Regions from separate parts of the Homo sapiens genome. Here region 2 is linked to region 1. Evidence: promoter capture Hi-C in 16 types of primary human blood cells and fetal thymus (Javierre and others, 2016). All regions are on one chromosome and are shown on one strand. Each heading gives the region's core, a stretch centred on a gene start or on the middle of the fragment in contact. The rest is flanking DNA. Distances are from core to core; before and after follow the strand shown. Region 1 holds the start of GPR62 (G protein-coupled receptor 62). Region 2 has its middle 12 kb from the start of ALAS1.

Region 1 (3,128 bases), core at 421-2,920:
CTGGGGACCACCTGTGAGTTTCACAAACCACCTATGCTGGAGGGGCCCTTAGAGATGCTGCAGGGTGCAGATGGGAAAGCTGAGGCCTAAGGAAGGGTCGGCCTATGCACAGTGCTATGCAGTGTTGGGCCCAGACCGCAGGATTCCTGGCTCTCAGAAGTCCGTGGGCCTCACCAGGCAGCAGACACCCTTTCTCCTCCTGTTCCAGACCCAGATATCCAGCAGGGCACCTGCTGTGACCTGTGCAGGGGTTGGATGAGCCCCCACGGAAACCACCCTCCTTTCTCCTGCTCAGGAGAGAGAACTCTCAGGTGGCCCCTGGTATGCGGGGCTCCGCCCTCCTGCCAACTCGGGGGTCTGTTCTGGAGCCTCAGAAGGGCCTACGGCAGGGCCCTCTGGGGGTCTCTGGAGGCATTGCAAGAGTGCCCGCGGGTGCCAGGCTTGCGGAGTGCAGGCCCGCACAGGTCCAGGCAGTGCACGGCGAGAGAGGCGGCCCAGTGCCAAGCGCACGGGGCGCTGCAGCAGCCCGTACAGGAAGGGGTGAGCCGCGAAGGCCGAGTAGGCGACCCAGGTGACAGCCGCTTCGGCTTCCGCGGCCCGCGCTGCGGGCGCCAGGCACGCGCAGCCATAAGGCAGCCAGCAGGCTGCAAATTGGCCCACGGCCAGCGCTGGGGCCAGGGCCGCCTTGCCCCCGGGCAGGCGAGGCCGGAGCGGCGGCAAGATGGAAAGGCGGCTATCCAGAGAGTCCGAGTGGAGTCGGGACCCGCGCGCCGGCCGTGGGGGCCTCAGGGCAGCGCGACGCGCCACCACGAAGATGCCGCCGTAGGCGCCGAGCAGCAGGAGGGCGGGCAGCGCGAAGGCCAGCAGGGCCCAGAGCGGCCGGAAGGGCCCGAGGCCCCCAGCCAGGACCGAGCAGCGAGCAGGAGCAGGGGGCGGTGCGGGCGGCGTGCCGAGCAGGGAGAGCGCGCCCAGCAGTCCCGCCGCGGCCCACACGGCGGTGAGCACGAGCACAGGCGGCGGCCGCGAGCCTGGCCGCAGCGGGTGCACGATGAGGCGGTAGCGTGCCAGGCCAAGTGCGGCCACCCCGAGCGTGCAGGCCGGCAGCAGAGCGGCGGAGAGGAAGCGAGCGGCGCGGCATGGCGCGGGGCCCAGGCGCACGCGGCCCAGCCCGGGCGGCGGTGCGGCCAGCAGGCCCAGCGGCATGATGGAGGCGGCCGCCAGCAGGTCCACGACGCACAGGTGCGCCAGGTAGAGCGCGTCGCGCAGTCCCGGCGTGCGCAGCACCACGACCAGCAGCGCGCCGTTGCCCAGCAGTGCCCCCACCTCCACGACAGCTGCCAGGATCAACCCCAACGAGCCTGCGACTTCTGAGGCGTTCAGCCCTGTGGAGTTGGCCATTTGGGCTCTCAGGCTTCACCCTGCGCTGGGATGTAGATGGCAGAATGGAGCCTAAAGCTGCAGGATTTCCATCACCTGTCCTCTGCTCCTCTTGTCCCTTGCTCCTCCGGCCCCTCACCTCATTGGCTGCCCAGGAGGTGGCTCCGACGCCCAGGCTGCCATCCTCTTGGGGGCTTGGCCAGGCCCATGGAGGGGTGCAAGGATGAGTCTGCTGTCTTTCTCCCCTGCCCCAGCCCAGCTCCAGCAACTCAGCCCCTGTCGGAGATGGTACTGGCTGTCACTCTGATGTTGCCACACACGGCTGGCAAGGGAGGGGCAGGGCCTGGCGCCAGCCCCCTGGGTCCTAGCAGCTGCCAGCTGAAGGCTGGAGGCTCTGCTGTGGAAGTGCTTGGGGGTGCCTCTAGGGTGGAGGGGTGGAGGACAGAGCAGGCACAGACTTGGAGCCTAGACTTGAGAGGGTTAGAGTGTGGGCTTTGGAGTCAGCCAGAGCCTGCTCTACCTTTCTCAGTGGTGAGAAGTGCCCCCCCCATCTCCTGTCCTGCCCCATCCTCATCAATGGGATGAGCATTTAGCTCTCATATTAAAGGGAAACTGAGGTACCAGTGAGACAAAAGCTGAAGCAGGAGGACCCTTAGGCATGCCCTGGCCCCCCAAGAGGGCTAGTTCTCTCAGAAAGAAAGGAGGCTGGAAAAGTGAGAGAAAAGCATAGAACGTGGCACATAGTAGGTGCTCAGCTAATATTAACTTCATAGAGAATAGGTGCTCCATGATAGTGTGTGAGATGAGTGAGAGGAGGCCTTAGCAGGCAGATGCTGTTTGGTTTTTTGTTGCTGTTGTTTGCTTTTGTTTTTGCTGCTAGCAAACAGGTCCCCTTTTGGTAACAGCACCCTGAATTTTCTTTCCTTTTTTTTTTTTTTTGAGACAGGGTCTCTGTTGCCCAGGCTGGAATGCAGTGGCACAATCTTGGCTCACTGTAATCTCTGCCTCCCAGGCTCAAACGATCCTCCCACCTCAGCCTCCTGAGTAGCTGGAACTACAGGCACGAGCCACCACACCTGGCTAAACACCCTGAATTTTCTTTAGGAAACCACCCCTCCCCAATTCTCAGGACAGGAAATTTGGGTGAACAAGATCCCCACACTCTATTTTCCTGATTAGGCACAAAACCCAGTCTTGACTAATCAGTGAATGTCAGGGTTCCCCACCCCAATGTCGTTGGCTCATGGAAAGCCATGTAACTCCCGTGGGGCATATGCCCCCAGGCAAAGTCACCCAGTTTCATGGCAAAACCCTATCTATAGTCTGATAGCTTGCATTTGTATCTGAAGCCTCTTCCTCTTTTCACGGGTATCCAGCTGCCTTTTCAACATTTCCCCACCAGGACTTTCACTAATGGGTATCTCAAACTTCCTATGTCCAAAACAGAACCATGACTCTTGATCCCTCCCCGACAACCTGCTCCTCCCAGAATCTTCTCCATCTTAGTGTCCATCTCAGGATGATTCCCTCTCCCCCACGCCCTATATCCAGTCCGCTGAGGTCTCTGGAATCCTGCCATTTCTCACCATCACCATCAAGCTGGTCCCAGCTACCACCACCTCTCACCTGGACCATTTCAGCATCCTTCTAACTGGTCTCCCGGCCTCAGCTCCTGCACCTTGTGCTGGCCATCTGCCTGTTTGCCCTCAGATTCATTCCCTTCTTCCCCAGTGCTATACTGCCTTCCTGGG
Region 2 (3,128 bases), core at 467-2,966, 230 kb before region 1:
TACTACACCTTGAAGAGGGCTGCATCCTTTTTGACAGCCGCATAGTATTCCGCTGTGCTGATGCACCATGATTCACTTGTCTAGCCTCTTACTGTTCATTTGGTAGTTTCCAATGGGTTACTCCTATCAGTGTCCTTGAACCTGCTTCCTTATGTGGGGTGAGGACTTCTGTGGGGTATTTAGAAACAAAACGCAGCCTGGTCAACATGGTGAAACCGTGTCTCTACTAAAAATACAAAAATTAGCCAGGCATGATGGTAGTCGCCTATAATCCCAGCTACTCTGGAGGCTGAGGCAGGAGAATTGCTTGAACCCGGGTGGCGGAAGTTGCAGTGAGCCGAGATCACGCCATTGTGCTCCAGCCTGGGTGACAGAGTGAAACTCCTCCATCTCAAAAAAAAAAAAAGAAGAAACAAAACCACCAGGTCAAATGTCAGAATCTTTTTTTTTTTTTTGAGACGGAGTCTCTCTCTGTTGCCCAGGCTGGAGTGTAGTAGCACGATCTCGGCTCACTGCAAGCTCCGCCTCCCGGGTTCACACCATTCTCCTGCCTCAGCTTCCCGAGCAGCTGGGACTACAGGCGCCCCACACCATGCCCAGCTAATTATTTTTTGTGTGTGTATTTTTAGTAGAGACGGGGTTTTACCACGTTAGCCAGGATGGTCTTGATCTCCTGACCTCGTGATCCCCGTCTCGGCCTCCCAAAGTGCTGGGATTACAGGGGTGAGCCACCGCGCCCGGCCAGGTCAGAATCTTTTATTCCAACTTTATGTTTTTTTTTCTTTTTCTCTCCTCTTGAATTGAGTGTGTTCTTGTGAGTGGCCTCAGATCCTTGATGGAGTGAGGCAGCTTCCAGGAAATGGATCAATAGGCTTTTTTTATTCAGCAAATACTTACTGTGTACCTACTGTTTGCCTAGTGTTGAACTAGGTTCCGGGATGGCAGCTATGAACAAGGTAGATGTAGTCCCTATTCTCGCGGAGTGGACACTTTGGTGGGGGAGACAGATGTCCAGAAGGACACGCCATCCAGACACATAATCTTGTGAGGGTGAGAGCTCACATGGTGCTCTGAGTGACAAGGACAGTGGCTGCTCTGTTTGGAGGCTTGGAGAGGCCTCTCTGAGGAGAGGATGTTTAGGGTGAGTCCTGAAGGAGAAGGAGCCAAGCTGGCGATGATTTGGGGTGGAGGAGGCCAGGAGCTGACCAGTGCCCCAGGCTGGGGGATCTAGTGCAACACTCTTGGTCACCTCCAGCTCTGGCCACTATGCTTTGGAATATGGGAGGGTTGGAAATAATCACCCATCCATGCCCAGTGCCAAGGAGGTGCTGGATAGATCTAATTATGATTACTATTATCATGACTGAAATGTGAGCAAGGAGGCATGGCAGAGAAGTTGGGGGGATATGGGGAGCCTTGGAAGCTGGGCTCCAGGCCCCCTTGGGAGGGGGCAATGCGGAGGAGCTGGAAGGCCATAGTCCTCCAAGCCTTCAGGGAACTTACATTATCTGGTGTAGCTGGTGGGAAGGGGGCATGGGGGCAGCTAAGGCAATCTGGGCCCAACTGAGGGGGCCCTGAGAACCATCCAAGGGATGGGTCTTGTTCTGTAGGCTTTGGGATTAGAAGACAGCTCTGAAGCCTTGGGACTCAACCCCGACTCATTAGGTGCCAGATCCAGCCTGGGGTTGGGGGAAGGCAGCCACAGTGTTTACCCAATCTCCAAAGCCCATCCAGCTTGATGCAGTGGCCTGGTTGTGACACCCCTCAGTGCTTCCCCCTAGCTAACGGCCATCAGCCCACTCAGCCTCCAGGTTCCTCTTTGCTGAGCTACTCACACCGGGGTCCACTGGGACTGTGCCTTCATTTCTCTGACCTGGGGAGTTGGAGAAGTTCAGCAGGGCTGGTGGCTCACAAGAGGTACCCAATGAGCATTTGTTGAATGAATGAATGAACATATGAATAAATGCATGAATGAATGGAGTGGGTAAATAAATGAGGATTATCTGTGAACTATGTGCAAGTGAGTGTGTGTGGGTGGGTCCTTAGGCCCCAGAGATAGGGCCGTTTGTGGGCCCAGAGATGGGGCCATTTGTGGGCAGGTTGTGTCAGCAAAGAGGTGAGTGTGGAAAGCTAGGGTCAGATGGCTGGTCAGCAGATGGCCTGGAGAAGGCCAGGGGAAATGGAGCAAGGCCATTTACTAGGGGCCCAGTTGAGCATCTTCAGGAGCCTTCCTTGGGGAGATCTGTAAGTGTCCATGTCCCGACACTCTGCCACTCCACTGCCACCCATGCATACGCAAGCTCCCATGGGCCCTCCCGGGTGTCTATGTCATCCTCTCCAATGGCTCTCCCTAAGCTCACCCTGGGATAGGCCACCTCTGATCTCAGCCTGGTCTGTGGACGGTGTGGTCAGGAGTCAACTGAAGCCCCTTGAAGCTCAGCTGGGGTGGAGGCTGCAGTCAGACCCTCGTTCCCCCTCCTGGTCCCTCTCCCGCTCTCTTCCTTGACCACCACCTCAGAAGATGACCATAGCTGTGCAGCAGAAGGGCTCTCACTCTATATTTGTGTAACAACATCTAGAAAATAGTTTTCCACAGCCTGCCTGTGTCTTAGCAGACAGAAGACTGCTGGCCACTCTGAAGTGACATTTCAAGTTTGGAAGTTCTTAGGGCCTAGTGTCTGGCAGCGTGGTCTGCTGGTCACATTCCTACGTGCACACCCTGAAGGTCTCTCAAATACATGCAGAATCCCAGGCCCACAGCTGCCCAGGGTCACAAACACCCTTTCACACATGGCCACATGGCCAACCACTCTGGTCATAGGGATAGCAGCACCTTGTGACAGTTAGATACATGGTGTAGTCACAGCGTGCCTCGGGGGCTGTGACCTTGTCACAGAGGCACACATGTGCAGCCATGGTGTGCCATGATTGGGACGTCATCATACATAGGGTCACACACACGGGCTGAGCTGTGCAGGGCCGCAGGGTTGCTCTGCTTCACCCCTCACCTCCACCTCCCTACCGCAAGTGCAGCCTGGCTCCCTGGGATCGTGATCCCTTCCCCTGCGCTCATTCCTGATGAAGTCAGGACTATCAAGAGCCCCTGACTGGCCCTCCCTCTGCCTGCC

The links. Contacts are between HindIII fragments. The CHiCAGO score rates a contact against its expected background, and 5 or more counts as called.
Region 2: a contact is called between a fragment that was not itself captured here and the fragment with the promoter of GPR62 in region 1, in 1 of 17 cell types (neutrophils). The highest score is 5.7, in neutrophils.

What each region holds. Positions count from the first base shown.
Region 1 is chr3:51,953,923-51,957,050 of GRCh38, reverse strand. GPR62 (G protein-coupled receptor 62) reads right to left here and starts at 1,670. Exons shown (of 1, transcript NM_080865.4): 1 at 1-1,670. The coding sequence starts at 1,398. The coding sequence ends at 292. RefSeq lists an enhancer at 422-1,010. The HindIII fragment of the contact is 13,748 bases long and covers 1-3,128 here.
Region 2 is chr3:52,184,684-52,187,811 of GRCh38, reverse strand. No RefSeq gene overlaps it. Among named protein-coding and RNA genes, the nearest start is that of ALAS1, 12 kb to the left of the region's middle. RefSeq lists an enhancer at 2,458-3,128. The HindIII fragment of the contact is 3,900 bases long and covers 1-3,128 here.